Linked DNA regions of Homo sapiens: regions 2 and 3 are each linked to region 1. Evidence: promoter capture Hi-C in human tissues and cell types (Jung and others, 2019). All regions are on one chromosome and are shown on one strand. Each heading gives the region's core, a stretch centred on a gene start or on the middle of the fragment in contact. The rest is flanking DNA. Distances are from core to core; before and after follow the strand shown.

Region 1 (2,700 bases), core at 145-2,644:
CCCAAAACAATAGAGGATCCCAAAGTGATGATTCACAGTCCATTCAAAGCCCAGCACCTCAGTGTGCAGATGGGGAGACTGAGGCCTGCGCGGGGGAGGGGGGCGGGGGGGTCTGAGAACAAGATTGTGTCCGGGTCCGCTGAGAATACAGATTACACAGGGGCAGAACTTTGCCAGGTGTAGGGACTTCGATGCGTGAGTGTGTGGATGCAGGTGGGCGGGGGGAAGCTGAGACTACCACAGGGCCCCTACCCTGCTGCCATCTGGGCCACCCCACCAGATGTTGCCCAGCCTCGGCTTTCTCCCTCAGCCAGGGCCTATCCCTCAGGGTCCATCTCCTCACCAAGCTGAACTCCTGAGGGGTGCCCTCGTGGGGACAGTCCTGGAGACCCTTGTCTCCTGGCTCCCCAACTTCCTCATCGCCCCACATCTGCCGGAAGGTGTCCTAGGTCCGGTCCCTCCTCCTCCTGCCTCTTACTCATCATCACCCTAGGCGCAGACACACACACACACACACACACACTGACACCACTTGACCCCACACGCACACCATGGCGCCAGCGAGCTCGGCTCGTTCTCAGTCACTTGGGCTCCTCTCCCTCTATTTCACACTCACAGTAACGGGTGGCCCTGGCCCTGCGCCGGTCACGCCCCAAGCCACGCACTTCGTGACCCCAGTGACCCCGGGTCTTTCCCTCACACAACACACGCACACACGCTGCCTGTCTCCCACACACAGAGCCCCTCTGTGTCGCCCGCTCGGCCCGGCGTCACCGCCCAGTGTCCCAGCCACACGTTCGCCCGGCCAGGCCGCCTCACGCGCCGTGTCACCCACAGTCACGGGCTGACACCATCCAGACCCCCCCTTGGCCGCCCCGCGCCGCAGCCGCGCCGAGGCGCCGCCGTCCAGCCCGCACCACAACCTGGTCTCGGTCCAAGTTTCCCGGGCCGGGGACCGCTCCGGGCCCCGCCGGCCCCTCACACCGCAAGTTCCGCTGCTTCCCCGCGCGCCCCCCGACAGCCACCACGCAGGGCCGGCCCGGAGTCGCGGCCGGAGGACCTGCAGGTCACGGGGCTCGGAGACTGGCGGTGGCCGGTGCGCGGAAGGCGCCGGGACAGGACGCGAGGCGGGAGGAGTGGGGTGGGGGGGCGCGCGGCCGGGCTGCCGCATCCGCCGAGCCCGCGAACTTCCTCAGAGACACGGGGAGGCAGGGGGCGCCACTAGGGTCCGTATCCCGCTGGCCCGGCCGCGGAGAGCAGACTCTGGATGGGCGCTCCGCGCGCCCTCCTTACCTGGCTGCGCCGCGGCAGCTCCAGCTCGGCTCCCCGTTCGACTCGGCGCCGCGGCCCGGCTCGGCGAGCGCCCGGACAGCCGCGCAGCCTGCGCGCCTTTTGAATGAATCGCCGGCTGGGCCGGGAAGGTGCGCAGACCCGCCCCCGCGCGTCACGGCCGCTCCGCCCCCGACGTCAGAGCGCGGTCTGCGCCCCGCGCCCGACTCACCCCGAGCCGCGGAGGGGCTCGCCGCTCTGCCGCTGGGCGGTGCTGCTCTACGTCGCCCTCTCTCGCGCCCCTGGGAACTGCAGGGGGCTGCGCGGGACTGGGCGGCGGTGCCCAGAGGGCCTCTTGTATCCGCCTCTTCAAGGCTCTGAACCAAGCAAGGAGTTGTGCGAAGCAAGATAAAGAGACTGGAGACTGAGATACTCCTCTGGGTCCTCTCAGCATTGCCAGTGTAACTAGAGCCACCTCTGCCCCTTTCTGGGCTTCATCTTCCTCCTGCCAGTTGGTGGCCAGGAAGAATAACCTCACTTTGCTTTGTTGACGAGGCCCAGGCCCAACCCTGGAAACCCTCACCTAGTTGGCGAAAAGGCCTGGTGAAGGTGAGTCTATAAAGGAAGCCCACACGGTGGGCTTCGGCACATCCTTCAAGGCCTAGTGAAATCCTCCAGGAGGCGTCTCCTGCCTCCACTCCCCTACTCCCCGCACCACTTCTCTGTGCCAGGGTAGTTAGTTTCCCTCCAGCAGGACAGGTGACTCAGTGCCCCCCTCCCTACTACAGCCATCCCACCCTGCCAGTTTCCAATGCCAGTCATCACAAACTCCAGGCAGTATTCACACTGTATTCCGACTCCGAATCGTGTCCCCTGGAGTTGTGCTACAGGGTGTGCCAGGACTGGAGGGAGCAGCTCAGTGGCCCGTTCCCCCTCTCAGTACTATTCAGGGGATCTCAGGCGGTCCTCCTGGGACAGTAGGGCTGATGGGAGACTGAGACACCAGGGAGGACCTAGTGCTGGGCCAGAGGCCTGGCTGGGGTCAGGATAATCACAGCCCATGACAGAGATGGAGAAAGGAAGGTAAATAAGTCAGCTGGGGATAGATGGCTGGGGGTGGGGTTCTAAACAGTCATAGAATCTGAACCCAGGGGCTAGGAGACGGAAAAGGTCAGGTCCCCAGGGTCCAGGAGATTCCAGGAGGCGAACTGGACACCGCATGGGGAGGGGAGCAGGGGATGAGTTTTCATTTCCCTGGGTCATGCTCAGGTTGTGGGGGAAGGGCATAAGGAGCTACAGGTCATTGATGTCAGGATCATGACATCAGCACCCTCATATGTCAATGGAGACCTCCAGGGCTGGGGCAGGGGTTCTTCCAGGGTCCCACATCCCAGCCTACGGAAGGCCAGAGCATCCAGAATGCCTCCACTC
Region 2 (2,700 bases), core at 47-2,546, 560 kb before region 1:
AGGATGTAAAATGGTTACAGCCACTTTAGAAAACAGTTGGCAGCCCCTCAAAAAGTTAAATATAGGTACCATATGACCCAGCAATTCCACTGTTAGGTATATACCAAATAGAACTGAAGGCATATGTTAACGCAAGAACTTGCACATGAATGCTGCTAGCAGTGTATTTCATAGTAGCTAAAAAGTGGAAACAGCCCAAATGTCAGCCCATTCATCAACTGACGAATGGATAAACAAAATGCGGTATATCCATACAATGACATATGTCAGGTCTCTCCAGAGAAGGCGGACAAATAAGATGTGTACGTTCTGTTTTCATATAGATACGTGTGTGTATGTGTATATATACATAGAAAGAGAGAGAGACATTTAAGGAATTGGCTCACAGGAAGCTTGGCAAATCCAGAAACTGATAGAGTAGGCTGATGGTCTGGAGACTCAGGGAAGAACTGCAGTCTGAGTCCAAAGGCAGTCTGTTGACAGAACTTCTTGCTTGGGGGACAACAGTCTTTGTTCTATTAAGGTCTTCAACTGATTGGATGTGGCCGACTCACACTATCACACTATGGAGGGTAATCTGCTTTACTCAAAATCCCCTGATTTTAGTTTATTCATTTATTTTTTGAGACATGGTATTGCTCTGTTGCCTAGGCTGGAGCTCAGTGGTATGATCATGGCTCACTGAAGCCTCAACCTTCTGGGCCCAATCGATCCTCCTACTTCAGCCTCTTGAGTAGCTGGACTTGAGTAGCTTGCCTGGCCCCAAAATTCACTGATTTTAAATGTTCATCTCATAAAAAAAAAAATACCTTGAAAGAAACATCCAGAAAATTGACCAACCATCTGGGCACCATGGCCAGTCAAGCTGACACATAAAATTTACCATCACAAATGGTAATAAAGTAATAGAATGTAACATTTACATATTACTCTCAAATGAGTCAGAAAAAATATAGCATATATAACCTGTGTACATATATACAGAAAGAGAGTGATAAAGCAAACATAATAAAAAGTTGACAACTGGGCTGGGCACGGTGGCTCACGCCTGTCATCCCAGCACTTTGGGAGTCTGAGGCGGGCGGATCATTTGACGTCAGGAGTTTGAGACCAACCTGGCCAACACGGTGAAACCCTGTCTCTATTAAAAATACAAAAATCAGCCAGGTGTGGTGGTGCACCCTTGTAATCCCAGCTACTCAGGAGACTGGGCAGGAGAATTGCTTGAACCCGGGAGGCAGAGGTTGCAGTGAGCCAAGATCGCACCACTTCACTCCAGCCTGGGCGACAGAGTGAGACTCTGTCTCAAAAAAAAAAAAAATTCAACAACTGGGAGATTCGGGTGAGGGTGTACTGAAATCCTTGATGCTATTCTTTTTTATTCTTTTTATTATTTTTAAATATTTCTCATGTTTGTTTCCTATCCTTTGTACTATTTTTGCAATTTTTCTGCAAGTTTAAGGTTATTGGCAAAATAAAAGTTAAAATAGAAAAAGAACATAAAGTATATGCACAAAGAGTATTGTTTAGAAAAGAAATCTACCTATTGTGAGGCCTGTGCCTGGTACCAAGTACATGCTGAATAGCTGCTGCTGCTGCTGCCAGCTTTTCAGGTCTGGAGAGAAAGGTTATTTCTCATAAGAAGTCACAAGGGGGCATCCCAAAGCCAAGAAACACCATCTAGCACAGAAGTTCACTGAGTCTGTAGAGCTGTCGGTGTCCTACCGTTCCTTACCCAGAATGCACTCCTTAATCCTAAAGAAAAAAAAGAAAAAGCTTTGTCTGCTAAAAGCAGGGGCTCCTTCCTTTCACAGTGGACAAGGCTATGGAGCACCTGAGAGCTGGTCTCCTTTCCTTCTGTTTGGGTCTGGATTTCAGAGCAGCTGTCAAGGGTCACTGCATATATCACAACCAGGACATCGACTCTGGAGACGTATGAAAAGGAGCGGACGAATGTGGTGGCAATGTAGAAGAGTGAGCCCTGGAATGAGAACTCACAGACATTCACGTGTTGTGTGTACTCAGCCATATCCCTCCTTATCCTCTTTTCTTTTAATTGATTTTTAATTGTAAATGGACAATTTATACTTGTTTATAATTATGGGCCACAAAGTCCTATTGTGACTTATAAATACAATATGGAATAATTAAATGAAGCCAGTTAACATATCCATCACCTCAAATGCTTAACATTTTTTGGGTTGAGAACATTTGAAATTTACTCTTAGCAATCTACCATGCTATGCAATAGATCTCAAAACACAATATATTCCTCCTGAGACTTTGCACCCTATGACCATCATTTCCCCATTCCTCCTCCCCGAGTCTCTGTAACCACCATTCTACTCACTGCTTCTACATATATAAATATATATATATACATATATATATACATATTTTTTTTTTCTTTTTTGAGAGAGAGTCTCGCTCTGTTGCCCAAGCTGGAGTGCAGTGGTGCAATCTCAGCTCACTACACCCTCCACCTCCTGGGTTCAAGCAATTCTCCTGCCTCAGTCTCCTTAGTAGCTGGTATTACAGGTGCCCACCACCACACCTGGCTAAGTTTTGTATTTTTAGTAGAGACAGAGTTTCCTCATGTTGTGCAGGCTGGTCTCCAATTCCTGGGCTCCAGCGATCCACCCACCCCAGCCTCCCAAAGTGCTGGGATTACAGGCGTGAGCCACCACGCTGGTTCTTCCA
Region 3 (2,700 bases), core at 197-2,696, 930 kb after region 1:
GGGGGCAGTTTCCCCCATGCTATTCTCGTGATAGTAAGTTCTCATGATATCTGATGCTTTTATGAGGGGCTCCCCCTTTGCTCGGTTCTCATTCTTCTCTCTCCTGCCGTCACGTGAAGAAGGACGTGATTGCTTCCCCTCCTGCCATGATTAGGTTTCCTGAGGGCTTCCCAGCAATGAGGAACTGTGAGTCAATTAAACCTCTTTCCTTTATAAATTACCCAGTCTTGGCTGGGCGCGATGGCTCACGCCTGTAATCCCAGCACTTTGGGAGGCTGAGGCGGGCAGATCATGAGGTCAGGAGATCGAGACCATCTTGACAGTGAAACCCCGTCTCTACTAAAAAAAAAAAAAAAAAAAAAATTAGCTGGGCATGGTGGCAGGCGCCTGTAGTCCCAGCTACTCCGGAGGCTGAGGCAGGAGAATGGCGTGAACCCGGGAGGCAGAGGTTGCAGTGAGCCGAGATCGTGCCACTGCACTCTAGCCTGGGCAACAGAGCGAGACTCCGTCTCAAAAAAAAAAAAAAAAAAAATTACCCGGTCTTGGGTATTTCTTCATAGCAGCGTGAGAATGGACTAATACAGTTGACCAAGCCTTGGCCAGGTCTGCATCACAGTTCAGTTTCTTCCTCTGCCCAATCCTGCTCCCTCCCGCTTCTCCTCACAGATATTGATCCCTAATAACCATCTTGCACCCACAGCTCTATCTCAGCTTCTGCTTCCAGAGAACCCATCCTGTGACAGGAGACAAAGTAGCTTGCTCCATCATCCAAGCAAAACAGATATGGGGTGGAGGGAAAGGAAAGAGTAGAAGTTTCATTGCCCACCAGAGGGCCCAGCCAGCACATCTATGGCCAGAGTTCACTCACTCGCCGTTCTATCAAAAATATGTGCTCTAGAATTACACTTGTCCCTTTGCTTTTTAAGGTTTTGTTATTTTGTCAGCATTCTAGTAAGGTTATATTTGAAGGCTGTCCAATATCTCAGATGAATGAAGAAGAAAAAAGAGTTTGTCTTATGCCTGTCCAGTTAGAAAGACTGGGAGCCTTCAAGCTTGGAAAAGGAGTGATGGTGGTCATCCCATTAGCTCTCAAGGAAGAGCCATCTGTGCAGCTGAGCATCTGGGAATTCCTTCCTGCCTGGAGTTTTCCTTCCTCCCTTTCATTTGTTTGTGCCTTTGGTTCAGTTATGTGAGAGTGCACCCTCGCACACATCACAGCTCAGAATGTATCATATTGGCTCAGCACTGTGTTGACTATACTTTCAATTCTTCTCTTCCTCCATACCTTAGGCAAACTTCAAGGATATCTATCACATGTGGATCTTTGTTTTTTCCTAGGAGCTGGGATTTTGTAGTGGTAAACAGTCTGGGCTTTGGATTCAGACCATTTGAGCCCCATTTTTGCCATTTACAAGCTAGGTGACCCTGGCCAAATTACTTAACCTTTATATATATATATATATACATATATTTTTTTTTTTTTTTTGAGACTGACATGCTGCATACTTCACTAGCAAGGCTGCTCCATTTTGGGTTTTTTGAATCTGTAAAGTGGAGAGAATCTCTTCCTCATAGGATTGTTGTTGGAATTAATGTAGCATAAGCAGCAAAAGCAGAGTCTTGCTCATAGTAAGCACTCAGTAAACACGTACACACATTTATTTGCCCATGAACAGACAGAGGGCTACTACCGAGAGACGCAGCTTTCAATGCCAGGGCTCATCCACCATCCCCACCCCAGGCCCCACCCTGCTCTACTAAGCTGGAGAGACGGAGAGAGGCTCTGATGCAGGAATCATTTTCATCTATCAGCTTTATCTATCAACATGAGCAGAGTGGACAGTTCCTCTGAGATCTGAATTATCACCTCCTGACCCAAAGTGCCTTCTCTGTCTTCTCCCTAGCACCAAGGCTGCAGAAAACAAGCAATGTGGAAGGAAGGAAGGAGAGGGAAATAAGGAGCAAGAGAGGGAAAGCAGTTGGCTAAGCTTTGTGCCCAGTTGGAAGAAGCAGAGTGGCAGTAGGCATGGGGTCTAGTAAAGGCTCGTGGAGCAAAGTCTTCATGATGAGTATAAGAGAAAATGGTTAAGTCATTTAGCCCTGGGTTCAAATTCTTGGTGCACTAAGTACTTGCTGGGAGAACCTAGTAAGTTACTTAACCCCTCTGGTTCAGCCTCATTATCCCCTCTTAGCCCCTCCCACTCTACACTTAATCCACACTGAACACTCAGTTCCTCAAACATGCATTGCCAAAAAAAAAAAAAAAAAAAAAAAGAATTGCACTCTTGCCTCTGCTCATTTGCCCGTAGGGTTCCCTTTACCTACAGTGACCCTATTCTCCAAGTGCCCCACCCTACATCAGCTACTGTAATCCCTTTCGTCTGGTCAATTCTAGCTCCTCCTGCAGAGCTCAGCTTAGATGTCACTTCCTTCAGGAAGCCTTCTCTGACCACTCGGCTTGCTATGTGCTCCCAGGGACACCAGAATTATCTCAATCGTGGCACTCACCACTCTCTGCTGACATGGCCTATTGTCTGCATGCCCCTCCAGAGCTCCATGGCTTCTTCATGACTACAGTTTCAGTAACCCATGCCTTACAGGTGCTCAATAAATGAGGCTGAATATTATTGAAACTTTGTAAGCTTTAGAGAGTTGGACAAAAGCCCAGCATAGGCATTGAATGCCAAATAATTTGTTGAG

Evidence for each region. Contacts are between HindIII fragments. The study calls those that stand out against the background at their distance.
Region 2: a fragment that was not itself captured here is called in contact with the fragment with the promoter of RELT in region 1 in 1 of the 25 tissues and cell types used here (thymus).
Region 3: a contact is called between a fragment that was not itself captured here and the fragment with the promoter of RELT in region 1, in 1 of the 25 tissues and cell types used here (spleen).

The regions. Positions count from the first base shown.
Region 1 is chr11:73,375,093-73,377,792 of GRCh38, reverse strand. RELT (RELT TNF receptor) reads right to left here and starts at 1,394. Exons shown (of 11, transcript NM_152222.2): 1 at 1,294-1,394. RefSeq lists an enhancer at 415-709 and silencers at 875-954, 1,045-1,334, 1,365-1,674. The HindIII fragment of the contact is 25,019 bases long and covers 1-2,700 here.
Region 2 is chr11:73,930,460-73,933,159 of GRCh38, reverse strand. It overlaps PAAF1 (proteasomal ATPase associated factor 1), which reads right to left. Exons shown (of 12, transcript NM_025155.3): 12 at 2,046-2,700. Among named protein-coding and RNA genes, the nearest start is that of DNAJB13, 19 kb to the left of the region's middle. RefSeq lists a silencer at 288-538. The HindIII fragment of the contact is 4,129 bases long and covers 1-2,700 here.
Region 3 is chr11:72,447,227-72,449,926 of GRCh38, reverse strand. No RefSeq gene overlaps it. Among named protein-coding and RNA genes, the nearest start is that of CLPB, 14 kb to the right of the region's middle. The HindIII fragment of the contact is 4,196 bases long and covers 1-2,700 here.